2 separate regions of the Homo sapiens genome follow, and region 1 is linked to region 2. Evidence: promoter capture Hi-C in 16 types of primary human blood cells and fetal thymus (Javierre and others, 2016). All regions are on one chromosome and are shown on one strand. The core of a region is centred on a gene start or on the middle of the fragment in contact, and the rest is flanking DNA. Distances in the headings are between cores, read along the strand shown.

Region 1 (6,803 bases), core at 3,071-5,570, 130 kb after region 2:
CTCAAACTTCTGGGCTCAAGCAATCCTCCTGCCTTGGCCTCCCAAAGTGCTGAGATTACAGGTGTGAGCCACCACGCCTGGCTCGGCAGTTTCTTACAAACCTAAACATACACCTACGATTTGACCCTGCAATTCCACTCCTAGGTATTTACCCAAGAGATGGGAACATGTGTCTACAAAAAAAAAACCTACAGAACAATATTCAAAGCACCTTTATTCATAATTGCCCAACACTGGAAACATACCAAGTGTCTACCAATAAGAAGTGTCAACAGGCTGGGTGCAGTGGCTCACGCTTGTAATCCCAGCACCTTTGGGAGGCCGAGGTGGGCAGATCACCTGAGGTCAGGAGTTCGAGACCAGCCTGGCCAGCATGAAGAAACCCTATCTCTACTAAAAATACAAAAATTAGCTGGGCATGGTGGTGTGTGCCCGTAATCCCAGCTACTCATGGGGCTGAGGCAGGACAACCACTTGAACCTGGGAAGCGGAGGTTGCAGTGAGCCAAGATCGTGCCACTGTACTCCAGCCTCGGCAACAACAGCGAAACTCCGTCTCAAAAAAAAAAGTGTAAACAAACAGGTATATTCACACCATGTAACAGTATTCAGCAACAGAAAGGAACAAACTAGTGATACAAACAACACGAGCAAATCTCAAAAACACGCTGAGTGAAAGAAGCCTACAAAAGATGAAATGCTGTCTGATTCCATCTAGGTGAAATTCTAGAACACATTAAACTAACTTATGATGGAAAAAATCAGGGCAGTGGTTGCCTTAAGGGTGCTGGTGCACAGACCAACTGGGAAGGAGCATGAGGGAACTTTCCAGGGCGATGGTGATATGGATGTTCTGGATCCTGAAAGGGGATTAGGCTACCCAGGTATTTGTAGTTGTCAAATGAATGGGATGGCATATTTAAGATCACTATGGCTGGGTGCAGTGGTTCACTCCTGTAATCCCAGCACTTTGGGAGGCGTGCAGCCCAACAGTGGGAGGATCACTTGAGCCCAGGAGTTCAAGACCAGCTTGGGCAACATGGCAAAACCCTGTCTCCACAAAAAATACAAAAATTAGTTGGGTGTGGTGGCACGCACCTGTAGTCCCAGTACTCAGGAGGCTGAGAGGGGAGGATTACCTGAGCCCAGGGAGGTCAAGGCTGCAGTGAGCCATGATCATGCCACCGTACTCCAGTGGGGAAAACAGGGCAAGACCCTGTTTCAGAAAAAAAAAAAAAAAGATTGTATTTCACAATTTTACCTAAAAAAAATGTAAGTAAACATTGAACTCTAGTTAATAATATGTATGGTCTGAAGTGAATGAAGTTTGCAACTTACTCTGTTTTTTTTTTTTGAGATGGATTCTCGCTCTGTTGCCCAGGTTGGAGTGCAGTGGCACAATCTCGGCTCACAGCAACCTCCACCTCCCAGGTTCAAGCGATTCTCCTGCCTCAGCCTCCCAAGTAGCTGGGATTACAGGCGCCTGCCACCACGGCTAGCTAATTTTGTATTTTTAGTAGAGATGGGGTTTCACCATGTTAGCCAGGCTGGTCTCGAACTCCTGACCTCAGGTGATGTTCCTGCCTCGGCCTCCCAAAGTGCTGGGATTACAGGTGTGAAACACCACGCCCAGTCTTGTAACTTATTTTGAAATGAGTAAAACAAATAAGATGATTGACTGGGCACTTTGGCTCATGTCTGTAATCCTAGCACTTTGGGAGGCTGAGGCGGGAAGATCACTTGAGCCCAGGAGTTCGACACCAGCCTGGGCAACATAGTGAGACCCCATCTCTGTTTAATTTAATATTTTTATATAAAAAAGAATACAAATAAAAATAATTTTAAAAAATAAGATGGATTAATGAACAGACAGAGACAGGGATAGACAGGCAGATCTGCAATAAAGCAAATAGAGCAAAATGCACACTGTACAACGTAGGAGGTGGCTACATGGGTATTCACTGTACAATTCCCTCAACATTTTTATATATTGGAAATTTCTCATATGAAAATGCTAAGGGGAAAAATCTGAAGGAGACACATGTGCCCTGGCTCCTGTGTGCTATACCGACCTTCAGGAGGGGACAGCCCAACTATTATGCTTCCATCCTGAAAAGAAAATGGGCCACAGGCCAACAGTATAAATCAGCAGAAACTCATGTCTCCCAAAATCTAGGATGAGGCCCAAAGAGAAGTCTGAGAAGTCTAAGTTCTTTTTCTTAGATGACGAAAGGCATTCGTATGTATGGACATGAACTGTTTTTATCCTTGTGATACAAGAAGTAGTAGAAGAGGCAAGAACACATGAATAATTTTTTTCTTGGCCGGGCACAGTGGCTCATGCCTGTAATCCCAGCACTTTGGGAGGTCGAGGTGGGTGGTCATTTGAGGTCAGGAGTTCGAGACCAGCCCAGCCAACATGGTGAAACCCCATCTGTACTAAAAACACAAAAATTAGCTGGGAGTGGTGGCGGATGCCTGTAATCCCAGCTACTCAGGAGGCTGAGGCAGGAGAATTGCTTGAACCAGAGAGGCGGAGGTTGCAGGGAGCCAAGATTGTGTCCCTGCACTCCAGCCTGGGTGACAGAGCAAGACTCTGTCTGAAGAAAAAAAAAAAAAAAAAAGAAATATTCTTCTTAAGAAAAATAAAATAAAGTCAGGCATGGTGGCTCATGCCTGTAATCCCAGCACTTTGGGAGGCCAAAGTGGGAGGATTACTTGAGGCCAGGAGTTAGAGACCAGCCTGGGCAACACAGTGAGATCCTTATCTCTACAAAAAAAATTTTTTTTAATTAGCCAGGCATGGTGGCACATACGTGTATTCCTAGCTACTTGAAAGGCTCAGGCAGGAGGACAGCTTGAACCCAGGAGGCCGAGGCTGCAGTGAGCCATGATCATGCCACTGCACTCTAGCCTGCATGACAGAGCAAGACTCTGTCTCAAACAAAACAAAACAAAACAAAATCCTAAGAATGAATTAGGTTAGTTCAAGGAAAAAGAACAAGGATGGAGAAAAGTGCTTTAACCAACAACTTGAATGACATGACCCGGTATAAGGAATTCTCTCCAACCTTAGTCAAATTCATTCCAGCAAATGACTGATGAACATCTGAAGAGTGATTCACAACTATAGTAAAAAATAAAATATGGGGAACGTGACACTAAACCACTCGTAGATGACCTGCTTCTAGGTTGGGGTTTCGTACATAGCAGAGCAGCTCCCTCACTGCAATCTATTTCAATAGCTCTCTATCTGAGTGCTATTGAAAATCAGCCCTCAACACAAGGGTTTGGAGAAAAAAAATAAATAAATAAGAAAAAAATAAATAAAATAAGCCACACTAGAAACAGGCCCAGTAAGTCATTACTGCAAAGTAAGACAGGCTCTTCCCCTGCTTACAAGAGGTTCTACTGTGCCTCCTGTCTCAAGGCAAGAGAACAACGGTTTAAAACCTTTATGGCTGGAAATGCCTAGAGACTTGAGGAAAGTAAATGATGGATAGTTGCCACTTGAAACAAAGTTCCTCTGTCTCTCCTCACTCCTAGTCAGGGGGTACCTTTAAAATTATCTCTTCCCCTACTTCTTGGTGTATCATGAGAACAAGGGAGACTCACTTCAGGTAGGTAAATTTTACCTGAAGTAAAGATAAAAACATTCCTGTTCATTCGAACACCACCTGACGAGGGGCCTCCTGCTTTTAGATGGGAAGAAAATGGCCTTCAGGAATTCCACAGGCTCCCTTGCTGGACAACAGGCGGCATTGTCACATTAGGTCCTATTTAAGTTATAGATAAGAGTGGTAAGAAGAGTTTCAGTGGAGACCTAAAGATTTCACTGACGTGGATTTCTAAGCTTATCTTTTAAACTTAAACCATTTAACTGGTTATCGTTTTTTCTTTTGTTGTTTGTTTGTTTGAGACAGTCTTGCTTGCTCTGTTGTCCAAGCTGAAGTGTAGTGGTGCGACCATAGTCACTGTGGCCTCAACCTCCTGGACGTAAGCAATCTTCCTGCCTCGGTCTCCTTAGTAATTGTGCCACCACACCTGGCTAACTTTTGCATTTTTTGTAGAGTTGGGGTTTCACCGTGTTGGCCAGGCTGGTCTCGAACTCCTAGGCTCAAACGATCCGCCCACTTCGACCTTCCAAAGTGTGGTGATTACAAGTGTGAGCCACCGCACCCGGCCTAACTGGTTATTTTTTAACCCCTTGAATGACAGCAACAAACGGGGAAGTTCTTTGAGCTGTGCTCTGCAGTTGAGGGTGGCCACTCCCGAGGCAGTCACCCGTTCCCTTGTCACCACAGACTCTGTTCTCCCTAGAACAAAAATGAGCTGTTACCTGTGTAGCCCACTGGATTTGTGTGTGCCAAGCACCAAGCAAGGCATCATAGAGTCCGGTAAGCTGCCGGTCCAGGGATAGGTCACTTTGACACAGCTCTTGCCAGGCTGCTAAAAGCTGCACCTGCAGAGACAGAACAAAGGGAACCTTATTGGGTACGTCAACATAGGTTGCCTGTGAACACTGCCCTGCCCTGCTACCCAGCGTAATCACGGATTGCTCAATGGGCTCACTGGGCAGCCCAGTGAGGTCCATTCACTTCAAAGAAAGGCAGGAAAAAAAAAAAAACATTTGCAGTTATCTGCACTGATTCACAGCTTTAATCTGTCACCCTGCGGATGTGATCCCCTCTCCATTTATCCTGCCCTAAAAACATGTAATGTGCAACCACTTGGCACACCATCACTCTTCTGAATAGATGTTGGGGCAAGAGCGGGCAGACATGTATGTTTAAGCTTCATGTCCTAACATCACTGCTTAAAAGACACAGAGCACTGGACTTGAAGGAATTAAGGTCAGTTCAGGAAGCTGTCAAGTTTTTTGGCAATCTAACTTCAGCAAACCTAGAAAACATAAAATTCCAAGCCAGGTGGAGTGGCACGCGCCTGTAGTCCCAACTCCTCACAAGGCTGAGACGGGAGGATCACTTGAGCCCAGGAGTTCAAGGCTGTAGTGCACCATGATCGGATCTGTGAATAGTCACCGCACTCCAGGCTGGGCAAAATAGTGAAACCCTATCTCTAAAGAAAAAAAGAGAAATTCTTACTGCCTTCTGAGGGTGTAATAAAGCTTAAGACATAAATCTCCCTTAAAAGACAAAAATGAGAATAAATTAAAACAACGTTTCAAGTCTATAATGAATCCAGCTGTAAACAGAAAAGAGAATGAAAACGGATAACTTTTTCCAACTGGCAATTAAACAAATCCATATGCTAGACCAAGAGCACCCCCTACTGGCTAACTAAGAGAAAAACAGCCAGAGGGCAAGGAGACAAATGTTCTTACCTTCTGAATTATGAACCTGCGATTCTGTGACCCAGAGTTATGAGCATTCCACAACTGCACAACTGTCATCGCGCACAGCTTCTTACCTTGTGACACTTGTAGTAGTAGGCCAGGAGCTGGGGCATCCGGTCAATTTCAGTAAACACCTTCACAAACACTTTGGACTGATCTAAAGAACATACAATGTATATATACTGTTACCAGCCTTTCTGGTGTAGACATGAGAAAAAACTCACCAGGATGAAGGTGGATATATGGAAGCTAGTATTCACAAGTTCCTGCCTAGATACTGAATTAACTCATGCATGAGGATCATAAATTTGAAAAATAAGCATGACGTGAAAACCAGATACTGCAAGGTATTCCCCACTGTTCCTCACAGAATTCATATTTTAACATGATACTGAGAGGTTATTTATGTCTTTCAAAATTCCTACTTCGATTATACCAGATGGGAACTTTAAAAAAGCAAACACACTGAACTGCTATATGTCAACATATCTGGTGGTTTGAGGAATAAGTAAATAATTTGGGCTGGTCGCGGTAGCTCATGCCTGTAATCCCAGCACTTTGGGAGGCTAAGGCAGGCGGATCACCTGAGGTCAGGAGTTCGAGACCAGCCTGGCCAACATGGCAAAACCCCATCTCTACTAAAAGAAAAACAAAAATTAGCTGAGCGTGGTGGTGCACACCTGTAATCCCAGCTCCTTGGGAGGCTGAGGGAGGAGAATTGGTTGAACCCGGGAGGCAGAGGTTGCAGTGAGCCAAGATCGCGCCACTGCACTCCAGCCTGGCCAACAGAGCAAGACTCCCTCTAAAACAAAGCAAAACAAAAAAACAAAACATAAAATCAAATAATTTGGTAACTATTAGCATTCCACACATAACAATGGATTCTAAGACCCAAGTTATGGGCTTAATATCAAGTAGTTTCTGACATATTTCCCTAAGGGCAGAGGAAATGACTGGGCAAAGCACTTGCTTCCAGGCTCACCGCTGGACAGACAGGAAGGTGGGTTTCAGTGCAGTCTCTGAATAGTGTGCACAGCAGCGCCACCTCTGGCTCCTGTCCGCCCCCTTCTGGCCAAAATGTACATGCCACAGCCTTAGAACTATATCAAAAGAAGGGAAAAAAAAGCCTTGAGCTAACAGGTCTCCAAACTTCTTATATTTGCTCTGTTCCCCTTCACTTCTGGGAAGCCCAATAAACTGCTGAGAAGGAAATGTTGTAACAGCAACCGCTGTGGGACACCCAGCTAAGCGCTGGAGACCTGCCAGTGGAACTTGACTTAATGGGCAGAAATCCATGAGTTAGAAAACGAATATTTGCCTTTAAAATGCTTATTATTTTCATAAGAACACTTAAATAAGTGAATCTTCCTGTTACATTTAAAATTATTCCATAGGCCAGGTGTGGTGGCTCACACCTGTAATCCCAGCATTTTGGGAGGCTGAGGTGG
Region 2 (6,744 bases), core at 3,294-5,793:
GGGCCATATCCACCCTGAATGGGGTGGTAATGAATGAAGTCAACACCCCTAAGATCAAAATACAGATGAGGGGTGAAAAAGGAGTGGTGACCCCAGAGCTAAACTAAGTGCAGTTACCTGAAGTAGAATGAATGGATGTTTGGTGTCCCCAACTCTCCCACACCCCCAAAAAAGAATATTCACCTTGTCTTCTATGCAAAGTATTGTGTGAGATGGTGGTTATAAAGGGTAATATGGCTTCAACATCTAACATCTCATGGATTTCTAGGGCTAGATTGGCTGATCTCATCTCCTAGAATTGCACTAACCCAAAGAAAGCAAAAGGACTGTCTTTCCACAATACTACAAAAATATTCAATAGAACATTTTTTGGGGGGTCCCTGAGAGACCTCCCAAACCAGTCATTAACCCTTTCAGACGTGAATTCATCTGACTGTGCCATAATTTAACCCATGAATCTTCATCCATAAAAAGAGTTTTTTAAAATTTGGCCAAATTAATGCAGGGCAGGTTCTTGGCTTCATTCAGGAAGGAATTCAAGAGCCAGCTAGCTGGTGGTGGAAGAAAATGCCTTATTGAGGCAGCAGCAGTGTTAGGCTCTGTCCCTGCTCCTGCAGAGCAAGGCTACCCCATGACGGCCAGAGCAGCCTAGCAGTCATATTTATACCCACTTTTAATGACATGCTAATTAAGGGGGCAGGTTATTCAGAGATAGCTAGAAAATGGGCGGTAACTTCCCGGCGTTGCCATGACAATGGTAAACTATAATGGCACTGATGGCCTTGTTTCATGGAGAGGTGCTGTTGGTGCCTCTTCCGTGTTTGGCCAGTATTCAAACTTATCCAGAGTCAAGTTTTGCCTACTTCCTACCTCAAAACGATCCACAGTTCTAAACAGCTGGCTAAAGTCCATATGGATGCTGTCTAATGGTGTCAGACTGTAGACCCTAATAAAAAGGGGAAACAAGTTGGTTTTCTCCTCAGGAGGCCAAGTTAACTACAGAACACAACACTCTTTGTTCATAGTTGCTTAAACATTCATGCCTTAAAACTTGCCAGCCTAACATCAACCAGTCTGGAGTTCCCAGACATCCCAAAACTCCAACTCTCCAACAATGGAAATCATGACACAGAATGAAGATGTCAGTTGTATAAAGCTGGTCACAACAGCACAGTTCCACAGGGGACTCATTCTAAAACTGTCCAACAGGGCCCCAAAAGAAAACCTTCAAAAATAACGTATTGGGTTGAACCATATGAAATTGCTATGTTCTTTTTTTTGCTTTTTGCTTTTTCTTTTTCTTTTTTTTTTTTTTTTTCGAGATTGAGTCTCACTCTGTCACCCAGGCTAGAGTGCAGTGGCACAATCTTGGCTCACTGCAACCTCCGCCTCCCGGGTTCAAGTGATTCTCCCACCTCAGCCTCTTGAGAAGCTGGGATTACAGGTGCGCACCACCATGCCTGGCTAATTTTTTGTATTTTAGTAGAGATGGGGCTTCACCATGTTGCCCAGGCTGGTCTCGAACTCCTGAGCTCAGGCAATCCGCCCACCTTGGCCTCCCAAAGTGCTAGGATTACAGGCATTAGCCACCCCGCCCAGCCGAAATTGCTATTTTCATAGGTCAATAATAGTCAAATATCAACAATTTTATATGGTCACAACCAAATACACCTGGGAAGCATTGATTTTCAAAGTGAGGTCCACAGACCCCTGGGAGGTCCCAGAGATCCTTTCAGGAGAAACTGTGAGGTCAAAATCACTTTCATAAGAATCCTAAGATGTTATTTGCCTTTTTCACCTGTGGACATTTTCCCTGACAGTGCAAAAGCAATGGTAGGTCATCACTGGTCATTACAGAAATGCAAATCAAAACCACAATGAGATACCATCTCACACCAGTTAGAATGGCAATCATTAAAAAGTCAGGAAACAACAGATGCTGGAGAGGATGTGGAGAAATAGGAACGCTTTTACACTGTTGGTTGGAGTGTAAATTAGTTCAACCATTGTGGAAGACAGTATCGCGATTCCTCAAGGATCTAGAACAAGAAATACCATTTGACTCAGCAGTCCCGTTACTGGGTATATACCCAAAGGATTATAAATCATGCTGCTATAAAGACACATGCACATGTATGTTTATTGCGGCACTATTCACAATAGCAAAGACTTGGAACCAACCCAAATGCCCATCAATGATAGACTGGATAAAGAAAATGTGGCACATATACACCATGAAATACTATGCAGCCATAAAAAAGGATGAGTTCATGTCCTTTGCAGGGACATGGATGAAGCTGGAAACCATCACTCTCAGCAAACTGACACAGGAACAGAAAACCAAACACTGCATGTTCTCACTCATAAGTGGGAGTTGAACAATGAGAACACATGGACACAGGGAGGGGAGCATCACACACCAGAGCCTGTCAGGGGGTGGAGGGCTAGGGGACGGAGAGCATTAGGAGAAATACCTAATGTAGATGATGGGTTGATGGGTGCAGCAAACCACCATGGCACGTGTATACCTGTGTAACAAACCTGCACGTTCTGCACATGTATCCCAGAACTTAAAGTATAATAATAATAAATAAAAAAGACTGAAAAAAAAAGCAATGGTGGGTCAAGTTATATGAAGCTGAATTTACTTCATTTACTTCAACTAAAACAACAGATTGCAGCCGACTGAATACGAGAATCCAGCTGTCTCTTATTAAGCCAAGCATTAAAGAGATTTGCAAAAATGCTAAACAGTGCCCTTCCCACTGATTTTTTTTTTTTGAAAAATATTTTTCAGCCAGGCATGATGGCTCACACCTGTTATCTCAGCTCTTTGGGAGGCTGAAGTGGGAAGATTGCTTGAGGCCAGGTATTTGAGACCAGCTTGGGTAACACAGCAAGACTTTGTCTCCAGAAAAATAAACTTTTTTTAATTAGCCGGAAGCAGTGGCACACACACCTTGTAGTCCCAGCTAAGGCAGGAAGATGGCTTGAGCCCAAGAGTTTGAGGCTGCAGGGGTCACACCACTGCGCTCTAGCCTGGGCAACAAATTGAGACCCTGTCTCTCTTTACCAAAAAAAGAAAAAAATTGTAAAAAAGCCTTTTATTTATGTCAACAAGTAGTGGGTTTATTATAGTGTAATGCATTAATAAATATTTTTAGGTATCAGTTTTAGTTTCTCATATGGAAAGTATCATTATATAAACAAAATAACATATATGTGTTAAAAACACGTGTGTGTGTGTGTGTGTGTGTGTGTGTATTCCACATAAACAAAAAGTCTCAGGTATTCTGTAATTTTTAAAAGTACAGAAGATTCCTGGCTGGGCATGGTGGCTCACACCTGTAATCCCAACACTTTGGGAGCCCGAGGCGGGTGGATCACTTGAGTCCAGGAGTTCCAGACCAGCCTGGCCAATATGAAGAAAACCCATCTCTACAAAAAACACAAATTAGCCGGGCATGGTGGTGCATGCCTGTAATCCCAGCTACTAGGGAGGCTGAGGCAGGAGAATTGCTTGATTCCGGGAAGTGGAGGTTACAGTGAGCTGAGATGACACCACTGCACTCCAGCCTGGGCAACAGAGTGAGACTCTGTCAAAAAAAAAAGAAAGAAAGAAAGAAGAAAGAGAGAGGTAGGGAGGGAGGGAGGTGGAGAGAGAGAGAGAGAAAGAAAGGAAAGAGAAAGAAAGAAAAGAAAAGAAAAATACAAAAGATTCCTAAGACCAAAAATTTTGAGAATGACTGCATTAAGACAATCTATGGAGAAATATACAGGAAACTAAGTGTTAAGGATATTGGCAAGAAAGTGGCTGAAATGATAGTCCTGAAACCTTGACTTGATGAGAAGAGAAAAGAAAAGGAAGGGAAGATTCGAGGAAATGCGCAAGGCCCGCCAGTGCCCTGAGGCTAGAGCACAGGTGTAGTGGGCACTCCAGAGGGGGCCAGAGTTCCCAATCTCGGGGTGGGCTGTTTGAATTTCTAATGCAAAGATAGGACCTATCGGGGATGACTGAGATCTGGGAGGTCTCCACCTTGGTGGAGGTGGAAGAGGCGGAGGGAAGAACGTTCCTGGGAAAAGTGGCTGCATATGTCCCCCTAAAGTCACCAACTTGCCCAGAGGACACTGTGTCTGCAGGGGTGTGGATGTGATGGGGGCGCGCCTGTACTGGTGAGCGCGATGCTTCGCCTAGGTGAACGGGACAGGTACACGCGTGGGGTGGGATGGAGTGTTCATATATGTGGCTTGTGATATGTACTGAGGGGACGTGGGGTACACTCGGATGAGGGGTCTGTGGACATATTCGTGGCGCATGTGGGTATCGCTGGTGTCCCGAGGTGGGGAGGGAGAATGCGGAGCGCGTGCGTGCGGGGGGCGTCCAGTGTCCCTGAACCTGGCGTGTGGGGGCTGGAGCTTATTGGGAGGCGAGGGAGGTGGCCAGGGGAGCCGGGACCGTGCGTGTGGCCAGGCCGGTAGCGCCCAGTAAGCTCCACCCGCGGGCGCTCCCCGTGCTTCCCCGCCCCTGAACCTGCTCCCTCCCAGTCGGTCTCGCCGCGCTCGCCGGGTGTCCCAGTGTCACCAACACTCGGCCGCCGCCGCCAGCTTGGCGCGCACCGCCGCCTCCGCCACCGCCGACAGCGCGCATCCTCCGTGTCCCCGCTCCGCCGCCCGAGCAGGTATGACGGCGAACCCTGGCTCGCACCCGGTCTCCCGCGCGCTGCCCGGAGTCCCTGCGCGCGCGCCTTCTCCTGCCCAACCCCGGCCCGCGAGCTCCTGTCCCGGCCTCAGTTTCCCACGGGAGGGCGCTTGGGTGCCTGTCTGAGGCGCCTGGGACCCGGCCTGGGGACTGAACGGGTTGGGGGCGGAGGGGAGAGCTGGAGGCTGGGAAAAGCCCCCAGGGTGCAGAAGGCAGACGGGGCCAGGGTCCCCGGCGTGTCTGGGACCTCAGAGACGGCGGCAAAGTCCTGGCATAGAGTGGGCGGGGCAAGAAGTTGTTCAAGAGGTGACAACAATGAAACTCGAGAGCGCTTTCTACGTGCTGGGCACAGCTCAGCAGAGCGCCTTGCTCAAACGACCTAACTTCGCTCACAGGGCATCCCTGTGGGGTGGTTCTCTTGCTGTCCCCATTTTGCAGAGGTGCAAACTGAGGGTCAGAGGGTGGGGAAGCTTCCCTACGTCCCAGGAACAAGTTGCTGAGCTCAGATTTGAACCCAGGCAGTCCGACCCTGGAGCCTACCTCGTGGGCTGTCAGTGGCGTCCGGGGAACGTGGGTTTCATTTGGGGTGATGTGGTGGAGGAGGCCAGATCCGAACGCCCTGCAGTTGTCTGCGCTGAGGATTCTCAAGTGCTAAGTTGATGTCTGGACAATGTCATATGACTTAGGTGTGCTGTGGAGGGAAAGGGTCTGGGATATAGTACAGGGACATTCTCACTCTAGCGTGGAGGGGGAAAATGAGGCACAGAGTTTAGGGAGGAAGCAGCAGAGACCTCCAGTCCACAAAAGGCACATCTTCCCACTCACCTCCACCAGGGAGTAGGGGCAGAACAACCAAGACTGGCTTTGGTCCCTGGCAGCCCAGCTCTCACAAAGCCGGGTGGATGGGTCTGAAAGCTCCCAGAGACCTGAGCACCCCTGTCTCAGATCCCAGCATCCGTGAGTGACCCAACCTGCCTACCCATTGAGCTGTGTAATTCCATGCAGAACACAGGGATCCATTCTTCTTCCTCTGTAATCTTCCACCCCTGCCCTCCCAGCTCCCCAAAGGTAAACACCTTCATAATTTGGAGTGTTTCCTTCTAGACCCTTTCCCCCACCTACACAGTCATATATACAGAGCCATAGAAAATATGTAAAATACTTAGTAATGTAGTAATGTTGTAGGTGGATATTTAATAGAAATGATGCAACCCTTGGGAGGCTGAGGAGGGCGGATCACTTGAGGTCAGGAGTTTGAGACCAGCCCAGCCTACATGGTGAAACCCCATTTCTACAAAAAAAAAAAAAAAAATTAGCCGGGCATAGTGGTATGTGCCTGTAATCCCAGCTACTCAGGAGGCTGACGCAGGTGGATCGCTTGAACCCAGGAGGTGGAGGTTGCAGTGAGCTGAGATGGCACCATTGCACTCTAGCCTGAGTGAAAGAGCAAGACTCTGTTTCAGAAAAATAGAACTAGAAGTAGAAATGGTACAACCCACCTATGTCATTCTGCAACTTGAGCCCTCTCATCACCAGTTATCCATGCTGCTGCATATAAACCCAGCTTATTTATTTAAACTGCTGCATGGATTCCCGCCGTGGATAATGCCTACCGATGGGAATTTAGGTGACAAAAATTTTCAGGTTGGTTTTTATTTCAGCATCTTCTATAAATTGTTATCTCTGGGTTAAGTTCAATTTATTTTTCTTTATCCTAAACTAACTTCACAGGATCTGAATTTAGGGGATGAGGTCCTCTCTTTTCCACTGCTCACATACGGACCCATGAATGCATGCACACACACACATGCACACATGTGTGTACATATGCATGTTCACACACAAGCACACACGGGCACACATACATGAGACATACACACAAGCAAGTGTACATGCATGCATACACACACACAGGTGTGTGCACACACCTCTATTCTGTCTATGACCAAGGACAAACACCACACTTTCTCTAGCTGCAGTCTCTGCAGGTCCCTAAGGCTGAGACTCAGCCAGGCCACTAGTTCTGCCTGGCCATGCCCCAATGG

What was found. The method cuts DNA at HindIII sites, captures the fragments that hold promoters and counts their contacts. A CHiCAGO score of 5 or more calls a contact.
Region 1: a contact is called between a fragment that was not itself captured here and the fragment with the promoter of SCNN1B in region 2, in 1 of 17 cell types (endothelial precursors). The highest score is 5.2, in endothelial precursors.

The regions. Positions count from the first base shown.
Region 1 is chr16:23,429,207-23,436,009 of GRCh38, forward strand. It overlaps COG7 (component of oligomeric golgi complex 7), which reads right to left. Exons shown (of 17, transcript NM_153603.4): 5 at 5,430-5,512; 6 at 4,339-4,461. Among named protein-coding and RNA genes, the nearest start is that of COG7, 21 kb to the right of the region's middle. The HindIII fragment of the contact is 941 bases long and covers 3,851-4,791 here.
Region 2 is chr16:23,297,759-23,304,502 of GRCh38, forward strand. SCNN1B (sodium channel epithelial 1 subunit beta) reads left to right here and starts at 4,544. Exons shown (of 13, transcript NM_000336.3): 1 at 4,544-4,679. RefSeq lists enhancers at 3,742-4,259, 4,260-4,776. The HindIII fragment of the contact is 6,869 bases long and covers 1-5,167 here.